2 separate regions of the Homo sapiens genome follow, and region 2 is linked to region 1. The links are contacts of gene promoters, found by promoter capture Hi-C in blood cells and fetal thymus (Javierre and others, 2016). All regions are on one chromosome and are shown on one strand. Each heading gives the region's core, a stretch centred on a gene start or on the middle of the fragment in contact. The rest is flanking DNA. Distances are from core to core; before and after follow the strand shown. Region 1 holds the start of LSMEM1 (leucine rich single-pass membrane protein 1). Region 2 overlaps LOC105375448 (a long non-coding RNA gene).

The links. The method cuts DNA at HindIII sites, captures the fragments that hold promoters and counts their contacts. A CHiCAGO score of 5 or more calls a contact.
Region 2: a contact is called between a fragment that was not itself captured here and the fragment with the promoter of LSMEM1 in region 1, in 3 of 17 cell types (activated CD4 T cells, total CD8 T cells and naive CD8 T cells). The highest score is 9.0, in activated CD4 T cells.

The regions. Positions count from the first base shown.
Region 1 is chr7:112,479,059-112,482,370 of GRCh38, reverse strand. LSMEM1 (leucine rich single-pass membrane protein 1) reads right to left here and starts at 1,380. Exons shown (of 4, transcript NM_182597.3): 1 at 1,025-1,380. The HindIII fragment of the contact is 7,612 bases long and covers 1-3,312 here.
Region 2 is chr7:108,619,580-108,622,562 of GRCh38, reverse strand. All of the region lies in intron 3 of LOC105375448 (a long non-coding RNA gene), which reads right to left. Among named protein-coding and RNA genes, the nearest start is that of DNAJB9, 51 kb to the right of the region's middle. The HindIII fragment of the contact is 1,005 bases long and covers 1,170-2,174 here.

The DNA of each region.
Region 1 (3,312 bases), core at 131-2,630:
ATCATGGCCACAAAAACTGACTTTAAGAGTACAGCTAATAAAATCTCCATATTACTGGTCTTGCTATCTACTCAAAAGGTGACTCCAAAAAAAACTAAGACAACAACCTAGTGAGCCATGACGTGCTTTGAAAGAAAATGTCTTCTTTAGAGTGAAGTCACAATGTAAATATATGCTATTCCAATATTTTTTTAATGAGCTGCAACACGCAAATGGAAAAATAAAGAACTAGCAGAGAAAACTGAGTTGGGTGCTGTTCCAGGGCTCCAAGAGCCTGCAAATGACTTGCAAATGACTCATGAGGCTGCTAGTAAAGGGATACAAGATCACATGGCCTTAAAACCAGGCCCCACGGCTGTTTGACACCCAGTAGTTGCTATCTTTGGCATCTCCAAATGAGGGCATCTAGGAACAACCAGCAAGGCTGGAGAAGCCAGTGTTACTAGCAATTCTTCATCACACTAACTTGACCCTCCTTTCAACTCCAGTGTGCAAATTTGCTTATTCACCAAGATTGGCTAAAGCAGCATCCCTTTAACAGAACCCTTTCTTATACCTTGACTGGAAACATGTAAGTAATTTCATTTTCCTCTGGTTTAGATCACTGCTAACAGTTGATTTTTTGTCATTTAAGAATTCTTTGACTATTTACAAATAAATATTCCAACAAATAAAGATAATTGTCTATGAAAAATTGCCTGGTGCTTTATTTTTTAACCAGGCAGGTGCTTGGTATCAAACCACAGAAATAACTCACACCAGTATTGCTTGCCACAAAATCAGAATTGTTATAATAGGGCATAATTCAAAGCTAATAAGCAGTGTTATTGAATGAGTCATGGTAATTTGTTCTTTAATTTCATTTCCCAGTCAATGCCTCTTCACATTCAGGAAGTAATTTTTAAAATCAAGTCTAAATCATTTCTATCAAAAATGAAAAACACAGAGCACATGCAACAAAAACTTCCCAGACTCGAGAATCATAATTCAGTCTCAGTAGAGTAATAGCATGCAAATTACTTACAAAAATGTGAGCTTTGACTGCTAGGTTACCAGAAAAACAAAACAAAACAAAACAAACAAACAAAAACTAATTGTTCAGAAGCAACTACAACAAAACTTTTCTACAAATTCTGTAGTTCTCTCTTTGCCTTTCTTCAGCATACGGGTGCTCCTATGAGACCCATAAGCCCCAGGATGAAACTGTTGGTCTATATTGTGTCAATTTAGCCAAGCAGTGTAAGATTCCAAATCCTGACTTTTTTCATAATGTCTAAGGTTTTTAGTAAATATATTACTAAAACTATGCTTTAAAAAGAAAACAACAAAAAAACACCATGCCCTGATTTAGTTGGTAACTGATGAGGTTTTTATTGGACTGAAGTTACCGTCCTTATCTGGCTGAAGCAACTGTTAGCTGACACCACCTTTCCAGCACTCCTGCCATGGTATGCTTCCATATATAAATATCCTGTAGCAGGCGGAAGCTGCCACTATGATGACTGACTTGCAAACACTCCAGACAAACCAGAGAACTGCAATAAACACGGACAGAATATGATTATGACATCATAACAAGGATGATGGCAGGTCAGACGCCTAGTGCTTCCAGTAGCTACAAAAAGCGATTGTGAGTGGGCGATTTCATGGATACAGACCCACCACAGGTGAAGGAAGCACTCCATCTCATCGGCCGCCTTTCCTTTACAAAGGCTTTGTTCTGTGAGTGTCTGCACATCCTCCTTTCTCAGGAATAACAGCCTTCCATATATGTGGTTCCCTCACATACATGCCAAGGAGCTTCTGCCCTCTGCTGTACATAAAAGATGCTACAGTGATGAGGAGACCAACTATCTCAGCAGGATACTAACAGTGAGGTTGTGAACAACTGTGCAATCCTTTATCATCCTCACTTCCATTGCCATAGCTTGATGGACATTATTCATCTTTGAAACATTTTTCATGTCAGTGAGAAAATAGGTGTTCCACAAAATTTTCTTTGAGACAGAGTCTTGCTGTGTTGCCCAGGCTGGAGCGCAGTGGCATGATCCCAGCCTACTGAGACCTTCCTGCTTCCAGATTCTCCTGCCTCAGCCTCCCAAGTAGCTGGGATTACAGGTATGTGCCACCATAGCTGGCTAATTTCTTTATTTTTAGTAGAGATGGGGTTTCACCATGTTGGTCAGGCTAGTCTTGAACTCCTGACCTCAAGTGATCCACCCACCTCGGCCTCCCAAAGTGCTGGGATTACAAACTTGAGCCACCATGCCCGGCCCAAAATTTTCTTTACACCTATATCCCATACGGACCTCACTCTGCTTTGGGGGAAGAGGAATGTCATTTTTTTTTTCCCTTCACACTACCTAGTCTAAGAGGGAATGTCATTTTTTCAAGCCTCATCTGTACCCAAAGACTAATTCTTGGAGGAAGACAATATAACTAGTAACTTTTCTCAGAAACATACGTTAAAAAGCTATGTCAAATTTCTCTGAATAATGAAAATGTTCATGTTAGCTATTATGCTGTTTTTAAGAAATCTCCCAACTACCTGATCTGCCTTGAGCCATGTATCCTTTGAAGATATAATAGAAGTAACTGCCTCATTTTGGGGCGTTTACTACTTTTCCTCTCCTGTAACTTCTAACTTTGTGGAATATTAACTTCCCCTGAAGGAGGAAGGAAATGGAGACTAAGGAATTTAATTGTTGAGGGATACACTGATTATAAGTGGCAGAGATGAGATGTAAACCCATACCTCGCATTCAAGTCTGAATTGAACTATACACCAGTGAGGGGGATAAGACTGCCTTTAGACCAGTTAGACTTCTGGAAAGCCACTTAAGAACAAAGCAAGACAACCTACTTCATTTTAACTATAACATACCTGCAAGACCACCTTTAAGAAGAGTTTTGGGGCCGAGTGCGGTGGCTCATGCCTGTATTCCCAGCACTTTGGGAGGCCGAGACAGGCAGATTAACTGAGGTCGGAAGTTCGAGACCAGCCTGACCAACAAGGAGAAACCCCATCTCTACTAAAAATACAAAATTAGCCGGGTGTGGTGGCACATGCATGTAATCCCAGCAACTCAGGAGGCTGAGGCAGATTATACCATTGGACTCCAGCCTGGGCAACAAAAACGAAACTTCATCTCAAAAGAAAAAAAAAGAGTTTTGGGTCACAAAAAGAGATATTCTCACATGAAGTGTCTAATCTAGGGACATTCTCAAGTATTTGCTTTTTCTTTCATATATTACATCTCAGGGTATCTAAATTCACTCCCAGGAAATTTAGTACCCATCAAAGAGGAGTCA
Region 2 (2,983 bases), core at 423-2,922, 3.9 Mb after region 1:
ATTACCGTCTTATTGATCAGGTTTATAGTCAATGACAGTGCTTACTGTTTTCCACATCGGAGAAGAGCTCTGAAATCTGCTAATCCCTATGCATAATAACAACACAGCATAATTCATGCCCTCCAGAAAAATCGTTCCAAGTCTCATGTTTTTATTTTGATTTGTGTTTGTTTCTTGGGTTGTTGTAGTGGTGATGATAGTATTAACATATCAGCATCCTATCATGAATATGCCTAAGAATCTCCCACCAAGATATCCTCAGTGTTATGTGTTCATTTAACCCAGGCTTCCAGGGACCACATAGACATTCAGACCAACATTACCGTGGCCTTGGGGATTATCACAATGTGACTGATTCTATCCTAAATATCCCCATTCTGTCCTCTGCTTCCCTGGAAGTTCCAAGTGGCTCACATCCTTCCTTAACAATCATTTCCATTTTTAAACAGCCACTGTCATAGTTGTCAATTCTCCTACAGCTGCCAGAATTGAAGCCTAATGACATAATTCTGTTTATTGACCAGTCCCTACATAACAAGCCACAGGCTGCTGCCGTTACACATTGTTTCATGTCATCCCTGACCAATCAGGTTGGGTTATTAACCTCTGACATACCCAAATAGTTCACTCTACTTTCTGACAAGAGCTTCTCTTCCTTCCCAGATCTAGTGATTGCCTGTTTTCTTGCCTGTATATCTCATGTATGCAGCATGAGAGTAAGACTATGTTTTAAGCCATCATTCTATTCCCAACAATCTCTTTTTCTCCCTTTAGTACAAAGCAGGACACTCTTAGGGGCAGCCCTTCAAGAGGCAGTATTCTAAGAAGCACCCTAACACTGAACCAAACTACCTGACTTCAAATCCTGACTCTGTTACCTACTAGCTATGGAAGCCTGGACAAGTTTCCTCACCTCTTTAAGCAAGCATTTCCTCTTCTGCAAAATAGACGTAATAATAGTACCTACCTCATAGGGTTGTTGTGAAGATTAAATGTGTTACCAAATATAAAGCTTTAAAACATAACCTGGCATCGAACACCAATGTTCTGGTTTGCCTGGGACTTAGGGGCTTCAAGGATGCAGGACTTTCAGTGCTGAAACTAGAAAAGTCACACGCAAAGCAGGTAACTCCACCTGGCACATAGTAAGCAATGTTTCTATGTAAGCTTCTGTTGAAGATGTGGTTGGTGATATACGGAAAGATGGTACCCTCTTTTGAACCGTAACTAGATTATTACATACCTCCAATTTCTGTTTTTTTTCCGAATTATGTCATCTGAGCAAGCAGCAGGCATACATACCTCCTAAACTAAGCACCCAGCTTATGGGCTCCTAAACTAGGCACCCAGCTCATGGGCTCTTTTGTCTTCAAACGTATCATCCTAAGCAGAAGCCCAATCATCTCTGGTCCATCTCTCCCAAGGTTTTTACATTAGAATCACAGGCTCACTTCTCATTCATTTATTTACTCCTAAGGTCTGCTTAGGAGAAGAAGAAATGGGGCTTTCTTCTTATTGGCTCATTTGTTTGATCTTGTTTAATGAGGCAAATTTTTATAACACTAGGATGTGAAACATTATTACTGTCAACAGTGCCCAATATTATTTGGCTTTCCTATCACAGTGATTGCTGTGCATAAACAAATGACATTTGTTCGCCTATCCTCAGCTCTCACAACTACATAATCACTAACAGAATGTGAAATATATCTCTGATGCACTGGCCCAAACTTACATAGGTATGTACATGGTCAACATAATTAAAAACTATTGTAAATTTTCACAAGCACAACAGGACTTGTAATTCCAGAATGATGTTGTCACCTTGAATGGAGATGACAGCTGTAGAAGAAAAAATTGAAATTTAGTCCCAGATAACTCCCAGGTCTACATTAGTTTAAAGAGGTCTTAAATTACTTAAACATTTTAAGTCTGTTTCCTCATCTGAATAACATGAATAATACCTGCTTTATAGGACTTTGTGAAGATGAAATGAAACTAATGCATATCAGTCACCCAGCTTACTCCTTCCCAATTTTAAATCTAAGTTATCCTGGGGTAGGAGAAGAGGCACATAGCCAATCCAGAGAGGGTGATGTTGCACAAAATATTTGGACTTGCTTGCACCATATCCTGTAAGTTTCTAAACACAAAAATTCACTCCAAGTGAAGCTTGGTGAATAAAGTGCCCCAGCAAGGCAACACCATCTGTAACAAAAATGTAATTCTAAAGTGATAAGGAGACGCAGATGAAAAACTAACTCTGAGGCAATTCCAAATGAGGAGTTTCAAAAACATTTTGAGAAATGGTAGAGTATTTCAAATTAGTTCATAGCTTCTCAAGGTGACTCCTTGAAATAGCAACCCTGACCTGAATGGTTGCATCTATGTTTATTTTTTTAATCACATTTATTTTCATTTCTCTTATATAATTAAAATTAATCCTGATTTCAAACATCAATTTAGATATTCTAATCACTGTTTATGCTTGAAAGCACCCTGATATGTCATAAACCAAAGTTGAAAATTTTTTCTTGTTGTGCAAACTTTAGGGTTGGTGTAAGAAGGAATAAAGTTGTGTGTGTTACACATATGGTACTCCTGCAGATGGCCACGTGGAGGGCAGATTTCCATAGCCAGAATGCAGAATAGATTGTGTTTCCCATCCTAACATTTACAATAAAACACCCACATAAGTTGGTTTAAAATATTTTGGTTTCAGCATGATTAAATAATATGTTTGCAATTAATATCTATTCACTTTGCTGTGAACTCTTGGCCCCAGTGTGCATTACCAGAAACAGTAAGACACGCTCCCCAGTTCTCTGATTTCTCAAAGCAAGAGGTTTTTCTACTAGTACTGACTGCCGTAACTGTCTCAAAGAAAAAAAATATGTCCCTGGCCACAAAGTTAAATTATAGGAGAATTTTTTTTAAGTTAGGTTTGCTGATTTAAAAGGCCCTTGGTGAGCTTTCAGACCTC